Linked DNA regions of Homo sapiens: region 1 is linked to region 2. The links are contacts of gene promoters, found by promoter capture Hi-C in blood cells and fetal thymus (Javierre and others, 2016). All regions are on one chromosome and are shown on one strand. Each heading gives the region's core, a stretch centred on a gene start or on the middle of the fragment in contact. The rest is flanking DNA. Distances are from core to core; before and after follow the strand shown. Region 1 has its middle 44 kb from the start of QPCT. Region 2 holds the start of SRSF7 (serine and arginine rich splicing factor 7).

Region 1 (6,382 bases), core at 3,699-6,198, 1.4 Mb before region 2:
AAGAAAAAGGTAGAGACACGGAGAAGCGGGTGGGGAGCAGCCCTGGGCTGCAATGTGGGTGAGCAACAAGGCTGTTGATTTCACCTGGGTGCAGGCGGGCTGAGTCCGAAAAGAGTCAGCCATTTTTGTATTTTTAGTAGAGATAGGATTTCGCCATATTGGCCAGGCTGGTCTCAAAATCCTGACCTCAGGTGATCCACCCACCTCAGCCTTCCAAAGTACTGGGATTACAGATGTGAGCCACTGCAGCCAGCCCATTATGTTTTAAGAAAGTTTATGGTTTTGTATTGGGCCACATTCAAAGCCATCCTGGGTCGCATGCCACCGGTGGGCTGCGGGTTGGACAAGCTTGATTTACTCTATGGTTTTCACCCTCAGCTTTAGATTCTCCTTGGGGCTGCACTGCACGGACGGTCCCTGTCCACGTTTTTGCCTCTTTCCCAGTGGTAGAATGTACTCCAACAGTTTTCAACGTTTTTGTATTTTAAGTAGTAAAGTCCTTTCTTTGAAGGATATCTCACACGAAAACCCCAAAGATAAAAGCAGTGCAGATCTGGTTGAAGGTAGGAGAGTGGCCTAGAACTTTATTGGTGAAACCTTATCCAAACCCCCCAGCACACTCACCCTGACGCACTGCAGCCGGGACTCTTCAGCACCTCCCTGTAAGCTGGTGCTCTGCAGACCTTAGCTTGGAGCTCCGATCTAATCTCCAGTCTCTTTTTACTCAGTTCTCAGAGGCAATGACTTGGTGGATCAGTCAATCCTTGGGTTCTAGGTTACCACTTTCACCTGGTTCTCCTACCTTTCTAGTCTCTCCTTCTGTCTCCCTTGCTGTGTCTTTTTTTGTCTTTCTGACTCTTAAAAATCAGAATATTCTGGAGCTTAGTTCTTGGACCTCTTCTCCAGCTATACTCACTCCCCAGCTGATCACATCTAGCCCCATGGTTTGAAGATTATGTGTAGATAACTTCCAAATTAGTATCTCCAGTCTCAATCTCTCCCAAAACTCCAAACATCTCCACTGGGGTGTCCCAAAGACACTTCAAATGAGGAAATGCAAAACTGAACTCACAGTTCCGTGCATCCTCCCGAACCTTCTTCTTCCTACATTAGTACATGGACACTTTTTAAGCCAGGTACTGACTCTTCTTTCTCAGCTCTGGACATTATCAAGTTCTATAGGCTCTCCTTTGTACCCCAGGTCTGTCCCCTTTGAGCAGTGCTCCCCCTCTGGGTCAAGTCACCATCATCTCTTCCTGGGTCCCCCTGCTCCACCTTGCTTCTGTAGTCTCCTATCACAGGGACTAGAACGATCCTTTTAAATTGGAATCAGGGGCTGGGTGTGATGGCTCATGCCTGTAATCCCAGCACTTTGGGATGCATAGGTGGGCTGATCACCTGAGGTCAGGAGTTGGAGACCAGCCTGGCCAACATGGCAAAACCCGTCTCTACTAAAAATGCAAAAATTAGCTGGGCATGGTTGTTCCACCTGTAATTCCAGCTACTCAGGAGGCTGAGGCAGGAGAATTACTTGAACCCAGGAGGCAGAGGTTGCAGTGAGCTGAGATCACACCACTGCACTTCAGCCTGGGCAACACAGTGAAATTCTGTCTCAAAAAAAAAAAAATTGCAATCAGGTCATATTACAGCTCTGAAATGGCTTTTCCTTTCTCTCAGAATAGGATCCAGTGTCATTTCTATGGCTGACAAGGTTCCATATGACCAGGCTCCTCCATCTTTCTGGTCCCTCCTCCTATGGCTCTCTTCCTACATCACCTCTCCTGGCCACACTGGCCTCCTGGCTTTTCCCAAACAAGCTGAGCACAGTCCTGAATCACTGCCTTTCTATGTGCTTGCTCCTCTGCCTGGAATGCTTTCCCCTAGATATTTGCGTCGGATGTGCCCACATTTCATCTGAGGTTTTGCTCAACTAATACTTAATTGGAGGGGCCTTCCCTGATCCCCTTCATCCTGTCCCCTGGACTTGCCCATTTTCCATCCTGGAGAGGTCTTAGTGACAACTTACGCTGTAAAGCCACCACCATCAATCACTTCATCCCCTAACGCTACACATTGCTTCTTCTTTCCCCAGAGATGAGGGTTAGACTTATGTTTGGTAGGAGCTGCAGCAGCTGCAACACTGAGGTCTGACTCAACTGAATCCAGGGAAGCTCTGGCTTCCCCAGCAGCTGCCCTGGGGGCCAGTGACACAACCCAGAAATACATACAGTTAATGTCCTGCACAGTAGACAAATCAATGGAAAGCAGGAGATAGGAAGAGACCGAGGGTTAATTGCTTACCCTTCCTCCCTCCAGTGGATTGTTTTGACATGCAGTGATTTTATTTGACCTCTCTGGAAGAGATGGAGATGGAGAAACAAGCTGTATTTGTGGCAAAGCTGGCCATCTTGGTAACACATCCCTTGTATTTGCCATTCTTCCTTTCCTGTCTCACTTCCTACTTTCCTTCACTTTTACTCCCCCTAAATTGCACCTTCTCTCATAAAGTCTAAGCCATGAGCTTTTGTTTCAGGCTCTGATTTCTAGGGGACTGTTATCTGTTTATTTGTGTGTTATCTCTCTCTCCTCTCTAGAATGTGAGCCCAGAAGAAGAGTAGGGAGTTTGTTTCGTTTACTGCTGTATCCTCAATGACCGGCCTAGTACTTGGAACATGGTAGATGCATGTTAAATACTTGTTGAATGAACTTCATGATGAGGAAACTTGTCTTTCCTAATCCTGGACCTTAAGCCAGGATGATTCACTGAAGCCAGGATGGTTCACTTGTAAGTCACCTGGTAAGTCCCACTCATCTGTGGCAATCCTTTGGTACCTCTTGCTTTGAATCTGCTCTTGATCTTGCTTCTGCTTCCTCCTCTCTCACCTGTGATATGCAACAGCCTCCCAATTGGACTCCCTGCAGCATTCCACCCTGCTTCATTCTAGACTTCATGCAACAGTCAGAGAAATGTTTTAAACACATTAATCAGGTCTCATTGCTATGCTGCATAAAACCCTGTGATGGTTTTTCACTGCACTGAGAATTAATATGAACTCCTTAACTATGGCTTACTATGGCCTACAAGGCCCTCCCCACTCAGAAACTCAACAATCTTTTTTTTTTTTTTTTTTTTTGAGACAGAGTCTCACTCTGTTGCCCAGGCTGGAGTGCAGTGGTGCAATCTCGGCTCACTTCAACCTCCACCACCTGGGTTCAAGCAATTCTCCTGTCTCAGCCTCCTGAATAGCTGGGATTACAGGCGCCCAACATCATGCCGGGCTAATTTTTTTTTTTGTATTTTTTGTAGAGACAGGGTTTCACCATGTTGGGCAGGCTGGTCTCAAACTCCTGACCTCAGGTGATCCACCTGCTTCAGCCTCCCAGAGTGCTGGGATTCTAGGCGTGAGCCACCGTGCCTGGCCCAGAAACTCAACATTCTACCACTCTTTCCCTCCCTCTCTGGCCTAAAATGCCATTGCCCTCTTTTGTTCCTTGAACTTACTAAGCAGTCCCCTGCCATAGGGAGGCTTCTGGACATCCTTATCCTCCACATGGGATTCTCCTTTAGTCCCGATTTACATTGCTGTCTCTTTCTTGGCCTTCTCACAGAGGCTGTTCCTCACATCCTCTTATCCAGAATAGGTCCTTCCCTGTATATTTCTATCTCAGCACTCTACTCATTTCTTTCTTTTTTCTTATCACAACTTGTCATTACAATATTGTTTTACTATGGGTGGGGGGCAGCCTGTTTTCATGATCAAATTGTAGGTTTCATGAGGGCAAGGACTATGTCTATGTTTTTCATCATTGTATTCCCAGCAACTTGGAGATATTTGTGTGTGTCAGAGGTTTAATACATACTTGGTGATTAAACAAATATTCAAGAACTGATCCAGCTTCTATTTCTCTGGCTTCAGGACTTGCCTCAAATGTCCCTTTATCACAGGCCTTCTCCAACTACCCTATATAAAATGTAACAGTGTATCTCCTGGCTTTTACTCTTGATTGTGGTGAGAGATTTGGTATCCTTGGTCTGGGCCTTTTGTGTTCTCTAAGAACCTGGTTTGCCCTCTGCCTCTTGGCTCTACTGGCTGCCATGAGCATCTACACCTCCCAGCTCCAGCTCTCAGGGCCCCTGTCCTCATTCAAGGCCTGCCCTGCTTCATCCTGGAGGAGATGGGGCAAACTCAGATACAGAGAGCTTTAGCAACTTGTTCAAGTTTATACAATAATGAAGATTGGGCCAGAAGTCAGGTTTTGGGATTTGCACCCAGTCTCATGCCTTTTCACTCTATTATGCTAATCCTGTATCTCTGTTTCAAATCGAAGTGACTCATTTTGAGTTTTCAGATGAACACTCCAAGTATTATGGAGTACCTGGTTATTTGAAGTAAAAAAAAAAAACAAAAAACCAAGAATTGAAGCTTCTAGCTAGACAAACAAAGCTTGAAGCACCAGACAGCTATTGAAGACCAAATCTACCCACAGGGCTGGAATTAGGCACCGAGGGAACAGATGCAGGGAGAGATCCAAGCTCACAGCCAGGAGCCAGATGCTGGGTGTAAGCTGTCTGTGCCTGTCCTCCTTTCCCAAGGCCCGCCAAAGGGAGGCTCTGAGCTTCAGAGTGGGGATCTAGACTTCAGTTGCCAGTAGGTTCTGAAAGTGCTGCCCTCAGGGAAATGGTGACTTAGAAACAGAACTGCAACAAGTTTCAGTTGAACTCCAGGGAATTCCCTAGGTATGCCTCTTGCCTCCTCCTCATCTCTCTCCTTCAAAAGAAGGACATTTGAGGAAGTCCCAGGGAAGAGAGATGAGAAATATGGTTATGAAATAAAGAGAAATGAAGAACCACAGTATGGAGTACTTTTCTGCATTGGGTAGGATTTGTGGGTGAGACAGAGAATTGGGTGGAGGGCAGAAGGCCAGAAGGAGTAGGCAGAGGAAGGAGGGGGTGTTGAACCTCCTTCAGGCATCGAGCGAGAAACCTGACCTCGGAATAGTCACACTTGATCTCCTTTTGGCTTCTGTGTACCAGCAAAGCCTTTAGGTTTAGTCTGTTTCCTCTGTGGCAGAAAAGGAAGCCCAAGACAATTTGCATAGGCAGCTCTCAAGCAAAGCCTCCCTCAAAGAGTTTCTGACTCATCCCCATGACTTCCTCCCCCATCTGTCAACAGGGGAAACTCCAGGTGGGAGGTTACATTTCCTGCCTCCCTGTTATGGACTAGTTTCCTTCCTGGGAGGTGAGGCAGAAGTGGAGGGGACTTTCTCCCTCCTCATCATCCCATGCCTTCTCTCTTCTCCCGGTTCCTCTCTATCAAACTCTATGTTCCCATTTTGAGCTGAGAATAAGGAACAGCAGAGTTGATTAGAAACATTTTAAAATCAAGTGATTAAACTCTGATAATGGCAGAATTTCAAACATGAGTCAGTATGTAAATCCAATTGTAAAGATGAAGCTTTGAAGATATTTCTGTGTTCTCAGAACCTCAGAAGTTAATTCCTAGACATTGCTTCCTCCTAAGGGCAACTTCAGCACATGGTCCACAAGGATATAGGGCAGGATCCTCATAGAGGTAGTGGGCTACATGTCTCAAGTTGTAGGATGCTCTGGGTCCTCAAGTCTATCTATCCTCTTCCTCGAGTTCTGCACATCATCTTCTACATGCTGCTGGGCTCCTGAAAGCAGCACAACACCCTGACGGGGAGCTTGTTTGAGCATTCATTCTTTCTGTGTTTTGATAGTGTTAGGTAGGCCACCATCTGTGGGTTCTGTTTAGATCCACAGTTCTTCCTCTGGACATGGGATGTATCAAAGCAGGAAAGAGGCTGCCCATCTGAGCTTTTCATGATGTCGCGGCTGTGGCTCTGGCTGTTACCAGAGCTATACAGGAAACCCAGGGAGAGGGCTTGAAATGGTTGGGCATCAGGTATAAAGAAAAAAGCACTCAGAAGTATGGAATTTGTTTACATTGGTTCAGGGAACCAAAGAAGATTCGAGAATAGAATGTTCTGTCCTGTGTGCCCACTGAAATTAGAATTGTATGGGATTTTCCTCCAACACCCTGGTGGCTATTTTCCAGTGTCTTTTGCTGATTCCTCTTCATCTTCAGACTTGTCAAGTTTGAAAGGCTCTAAGACTCAGTTCTTGTTCCTCTTCATTTCTCCATCTCAGTCCATTGTTGACCTCATCCAGCTTCAAGTCTTTAAATACCATGTATATGTTGGCAACTCCTGGAGCTCTCAAATGTTTTCTAGACTTGTATGTACAACGGCCTACTGAACAGTTCTACTTGAAGGTCAGATTCAGCAAGTTCCCACTGAACTCCTGGTCTCCTCCCCACAAATCTGCTTCAGACATTGTTGGATGGCAGTAGCTCCAACC
Region 2 (6,311 bases), core at 1,873-4,372:
TGGCTCATGCCCATAATCCCAGCACTGCGGGAGGATCGTTTGAGCCCAGGAGCTTGAGACCAGCCTGGGAAACAGTGCAAGACCATTTCTACAAAAATAAAAATTAGCTGGGTATGGTGGCAGTGCCTACAGTCCCAGCTACTCGGGAGGCTGAGGTAGGAGAACTGCTTAAACCCAAGAGATCATCAAGGCAGCAGTGAGTCGTGGTTATGCCCCTGTACTCCAGCCCGGGTGACAGAGCAAGACCCTGTCTCCAAAAAAAATAATGAGCTTTTTCTGTGTTGGACTACCAGTGAATTTAATAATAATACAGAAAGACTTCAGTTAAACAAGATCTCACCTTCGTCCCCTGCTCCTGCTGCGTGAGCGAGAGTATCGCCTTCCTCTGGATCGAGAATGTGATCTAGACCGTGACCTATTTTTCAAGTTAGAGAAAAAACAAAATGTCAGACAATAACTCGTTTTTAAGAGTTTGTGTGCCTCTGCTGAAATCAAATCTCAAAACTATTTAAATTTAGTGTCTCATTTGGAAATAAACTCTGGGCCTATTAGTTGTTGAGTATTTTTTTTTTTACTACCTAAAAAAAGATTTGTTAAAAGCTGAATTACAACTTAGCATTACATAATATAAAACACTGTAATGTGTATTTAAAATAAACCTTGCAAGTTTGCAGGTCGACCCTCTTTGGCCCATGGTCTAGTAGATCTAGACGATCTAGAAGTATCTATAGCCGATCGCTGCATCTAGATGTTTTCTTCAATCTAACGACGATCAAACTGACAGCCAAATGAGCCAGGTGAGGCTTGATTGACGCAAGAAGATTTTTCTAGTTGGGAATGTGGTCAATCTGGTGTTCCTCTTTCTAAACCGGAGGGGGGCCCCAATTGTAAGCCAAATTTACTGTTACGGCGATCACCGTCTCAAATTTTCTGCCCTTTAAAGAATAAGGTGAAGCTAGGTGTAGATGACTCGAGGGGATCTGGCCTCTTATGCTGATCACCTCAAGGTCTAGGAGGATCTTAATTGTCGGATTTGCAAGGCGCCTCAGCATGATATCATAAGGCTCGTGACATTCTGAATCAAGGCGACTGACTCAAACGAAGAAACCTGAAAGGTTTTGACCAGGTTGATTATTAATATAGTAACATTTTTTTAATTAAACAAAAATTGTAAAATACACCTGTACAATTAACATTCAAGTTTATAGAAAAACACTAGTTTCTGCCTTGCTAATAAAAGAATTACTTGATTAACTAGAATACCAACCATTCCTTTATTAAAATAAATACCTGCTTCTTCTTCGCCGGCTGTAACGATGACAATCATAAGCATAATGTCCCTTTTCGCCACACTCATAGCATCTATCATTTGGATCAAAGGGACGTCGGGCAGGTGGTCTATCAAAACGTGATCTCCGAGGCATGCCTGTCGATAGTTCAACCCTCACTCGGGAGCCACAAATCACCCTAATAAAAGCAAATTAACAAAATTCTAAAGTTAAAAATATATTCAGGACTTATAGATTTAAAAAGAACTCTTTCCAACCACTCACTCTTTCCAACCACTCCTTCCCCCCCAACAAACTTTGGCGGTCTTTACCAAGCCCTAACTCCATCTCCGCTATCTTCTTTAACCTTCGTGTGCCTTTAGCATTTAACACTATGACCAGCTATTTAAGGTCTCTTCCAGACTTCAGAATCCAAATTTAGCACTAAGTTCATTATCTAGCCACAGTATATTTTAATGAACAGAAGATTCATAACATCTTACTTACTTTCCATCCAGTCCTCGTACTGCATCTTCTGCATCTCTAGGATCTTCGAATTCCACAAAGGCAAATCCTGGAGGATTTCTCGCAATCCATACAGTTCTTAAAGGACCATAATAACTGAAAGCCCTTTCTAACTCTCCTTTGCCAGCGCCAGTTCCCAGGTTACCAACATACACCTTGGTTTCTGTTTAAAAACGCAAATAGAAGAATGCACGTTACGCAAAATCTGGCCCAAGTTTCAATTACTTATTTGCCTTAAAACGGGCCATCCTCAAGATTGGGTAAAGCACATTTAATGCCCTCTATCCAAGACAAAACTTAGTCGTAAAACTGGTGAAAGTCCGCAAATCCCTGAGAAACTAGACTTTTGACAAAATTCTTAACGTTCTAAATAATGCGGGGTGACCCTCCCGAACACAAGCAGAAACGCGTGGTAGGATACACCGAGGCGTGGGGCGGAACCTGGCCCGGCCCCACCCATGAGTCCCGGCAGCCCCGGGCGCACCGGGAGCGCGCGGGCCCGCAGCGGCAGCGGCGTCGGCGGCGGGAGGGCCTCGGTAGGGGCCGGGCCAGGAGAGCAGGGCTGCGCCGGCTCTCGTCCTCCGCGGCAAACGTCCCAGGCACAGGCTCGCCCAAGACTCCAGCTCCCCGCCCCAGAGCCATAAACCGCGCTGGAAATAACTAAAAAAAACCCAGCCGCCAGTCGCAGATTACGTCCCCATTCCCATTCCGCAATTTAACCGATTGTTTGACGAGAACATGCAGCTCACAGCTGCCAATTTCGTTCTATCTCAAACACAACCACGATCTTACAGCTGCGGCCAGATCTGTCCGCTGAAGTGGCGGGAAAGCGCTGAGGAAATGCGCCACCACGGTCCTCAATGTGCGCAAAATGGCAGCCGCCGCCGAGGGCGGGGGGGGAGGGGGGCCGGCGGGCAGCTCCGAGAAAGGCAACGCGAAAACCGTCATCTCAACCCTGCTTTAGGCTGGATTGGGCCACAAAAATGCCCAAGAGTACGGAACTCGGCAGAGATGTACACCCGCCATCCCGTCTCCCTTCAGCACCCCGCCTCCGCTGCCTCCGGCTTCGTCTGGCGTGCTCCTAAGCCGCCATTACGCACGCGGAATAACCGTCTCCCAACCTCCGCGACAACCCTACGGCCTCGCAGTGCTCACTACACCCACACCAACGTCCCTCACCGGACTCCAGCTTCTTACCTCCTCCGTACCGCCCGTAACGCGACATGATGACAGACCCGCGTGCTCGGCTCTTTAGCAAGCAGCGCCCAGGGCTCGAGTGACGCAAAAGCTGACACACACCTTCACCCGCCAAGAGTCCCGGCGGCACTACGAGGAAGAGCCCGGGTTCGCGTTTATATATGCGGCCGCTGCGCTTTGCGCATGCGTCATCTCGTTGTTCTGCGCGGCACAAAGGAGCTGGGCGGAAACAGCCAAGAAACGACGCGGAAGGAACTGAAGAGACTAACACGCGGGTCATGGGCGGAGGGATACGTTTCTATGGGAACGCCACGATCTCTCCAGTAAACCTGAGGCCTTCCCCATGCTGTCCCGCCCCCTCCTCTCCCCGTTTTCTACACCCTCCTTGTCTTCTTTCCCGTCTCCCTACCCTCTGCCTCCTTTCGTTTTTCCCCAGGCTAGGGACCCTCAGCCTTAACAATCTTAGTACGGATGCATTAGACCGGCCTATGAAAGGCTGTACAATTTAACCGCTGATGTTGCAGCCGTCGCGCCCTTCTGCTGGGGGACCTGGCCTAGTCAGCTACTCTGATCTTTGGGGCTCATCAGAGGTAATCGAAGGTTTGGCCATGGTGAAAAGTCCATGAACCCCGCCATTCTGAGTAGTGGTTTTTACACCATAGACCTTGACGCACCCTGGGACTGGTGGTAAAGCCTCCTGTCCTACACGCCCCCTCCAACTTCTTTTGAACCAGTCACCAGTTTGCACCACCACGGTCTGAGTTCTTGGAGTCTGAAAGACAAAGGAATAGAGCTGTGGGGTCCCGCTCCCCCCTCCCCCCTTTATATTGAAATTGTGACAAAACCCTGAATGTTTAAAGCATTTTGGCCAGTGACAATTTGGAAATTATTTGCATCTGAAGCTCAAAGTAACTGATTTGCTTTTCCTAATGCTTTCTGCTTTGTAACACGTGTGATCCACCAATACTCCGATCCTGAGGACTGGGACTCCTAAGTCATCTTTGTGTATCTCCACTCAGTGGAAATAGCAGCCTTGCTGCTCAGCCACTCAACAGTACCAAATAAATGCAAAACTTCTTTACATTAGAATTGCTCTAGACACCAACTACAAATAGAGAAAAAGTTCTTTTTTGCTAGAAACATAGACATTACATCGTAAATTCTTGGAATACACAAAAGTTGGAAATGTACATAAAAAAAGACATTTAGGTATTTGCATTTTTATCTTTTTCGTCTTTTGCAACTTCATTTGGTGAGTATAGGTGTGGAATGGAGAGTACAGGGAAAGCAGGCCTAGTTGGTGAATAAAGCATGGATTCTTTCCAGGTCATGCTATGATTTTATGCATATTTTTTACGTTGATTAAGTTATGGAGAGAATTAATCTCTCTCAGGAAGATCTCTAAGAAGAAAATAGAAGCTCTGTAGAGTATATGTGTTCTCCCTTAGTCTTGGTGATTTTTTTCTTAACAAGGTTCTTCTCAAAAGAAACAATAATTATAAAGATCTATAGGTTCTTCTCAAAAGAATTAAACAATAATTATAAAGACTATATAGGGGCCAGGCGCAGTGGCTCACGCCTGTAATGCCAGCACTTTGGGAGGCCGAGGCGGGCGGATTGCCTGAGCTCAGGAGTTTGAGACCAGCCTGGGCAACACAGTAAAACCCTGTCCCTACTAAAATACAAAAAATTAGCCTGGCGTGGTGGCGTGTGCCTGTAGTCCCAGCTACTCCGGAGGCTGAGGCAGGAGAACTGCTTGAACCCAGGAGGCGGAGGTTGCAGTGAGCTGAGATCGTGCCACTGCACTCCAGCCTGGGCGACAGAGCAAGACTCCATCTCAAAAAAAAAGATTATATGGTATCTGAAAGATAAAATATAAATTCTGTAAAGCCTCACTAAGTTGACTTTCTTCTGTTAAGAAGCTATGAAAATTACTGTTGAGGCCGCGCGCAGTGGCTCATGCCTGTAATCCCAGCACTTTGGGAGGCTGAAGCTGGCGGATCACCTGAGGTCAGGAGTTCGAGACCAGCCTGACCAACATGGAGGAACCCCGTCTCTACTAAAAATACAAAATTAGCTGGGCGTGGTGGCGCATGCCTGTAATCCCAGCTACTCGGGAGGCTGAGGCAGGAGAATCGCTTGAACCTGAGAGGTGGAGGTTGTGGTGAGCTGAGATCTTGCCATTGCACTACAGCCTGAGCAACAAGAGCAAAACTCCTAGGCCGGGCGCTGTGACTCACATCTGTAATCCCAGCACTCTGGGAGGCCGAGGCGGGCGGATCACCTAAGGTCAGAAGTTCAAGACCAGCCTGGCCATGGTGAAACCCCCGTCTCTACTAAAAATACAAAAAATTAGCCAGGCGTGGTGGTGCGCACCTGTAATCCCAGCTACTTGGGAGGCTGAGGCAGGAGAATTGCTTGAACCCGGGAGGTGGAGGTTGCAGGGAGCCGAGATTGCGCCATTGCACTCCAGCCTGGGCAACAAGAGTGAAACTCCATCTCCAAAACAAAAGAGCAAAACTCCGACTCAAAAAAAAAGAAAATTACTGTTGAGCCAAGCATAGATAACTGCTTGAAAGACAGTGCATGTTATACTGTATAATTCCTAATAAACCTCAATAAACTTTTTTTTTTCCAATAAACTTTTTTTGACTCTGAATACAAAGTCTAAGTCAGGTTTTGTGGCTCATGCCGGTAATCTCTGCACTTTGGGAGGTTGAGGTGGGAGGATATCTTGAGGCCAGGACTTTGAGACCAGCCTGGGCAACAGAACCAGACCCCCATCTCTACCAACAAAACAAAACAAAGTCTATAGTTGTACTAAAGAAATTTCTAAGCAAGTAATAGTAAACAGAAGCAGTTTTAAAATTTATAACCAATTGCTTTCAAATCCTGATTCACAGACATGCTTGTCTTGCAGACAGGTGTTCAATAAGCTAATTACATACTGTTTATTCCTATGAAAGCAGGGCCAGTACAAGGCCAGGCTTTGTTAATCTGGTTACCATGAAAAAATAATAGTACTGTATACTATTTCCATAGACTATTCTACTTTCTACTGAACACTCTTTCTCTAAGAACAGGCAACCAATTCTTTTCACTAAATGTCAGTCCAAATCAGGGAGATTTTACTGTGCAGAGAACTTTTATTCCTGCTGATTCTTGTTGAAATCACATTCACCCACATAAGTTTCTGCCTCTAGAAATCTGTTAAATTTAGATTACATTCTCAGATTGTTTGAATATGAAAACTACTTTCTTCAAATATTGTAATATTTCCTAATATGAAATATTAGTTATTAACATGTTACTATTGTTAAA

What was found. The method cuts DNA at HindIII sites, captures the fragments that hold promoters and counts their contacts. A CHiCAGO score of 5 or more calls a contact.
Region 1: a fragment that was not itself captured here is called in contact with the fragment with the promoter of SRSF7 in region 2 in 1 of 17 cell types (activated CD4 T cells); the score reaches 5.1 in activated CD4 T cells.

Annotation. Positions count from the first base shown.
Region 1 is chr2:37,385,485-37,391,866 of GRCh38, forward strand. No RefSeq gene overlaps it. Among named protein-coding and RNA genes, the nearest start is that of QPCT, 44 kb to the left of the region's middle. RefSeq lists an enhancer at 4,620-4,809. The HindIII fragment of the contact is 1,011 bases long and covers 4,444-5,454 here.
Region 2 is chr2:38,748,239-38,754,549 of GRCh38, forward strand. It overlaps SRSF7 (serine and arginine rich splicing factor 7), which reads right to left and starts at 3,123. Exons shown (of 8, transcript NM_001031684.3): 1 at 2,991-3,123; 2 at 1,776-1,956; 3 at 1,291-1,467; 4 at 341-415. The coding sequence starts at 3,018. RefSeq lists silencers at 2,208-2,397, 2,608-2,707 and an enhancer at 3,568-3,627. The HindIII fragment of the contact is 14,475 bases long and covers 1-6,311 here.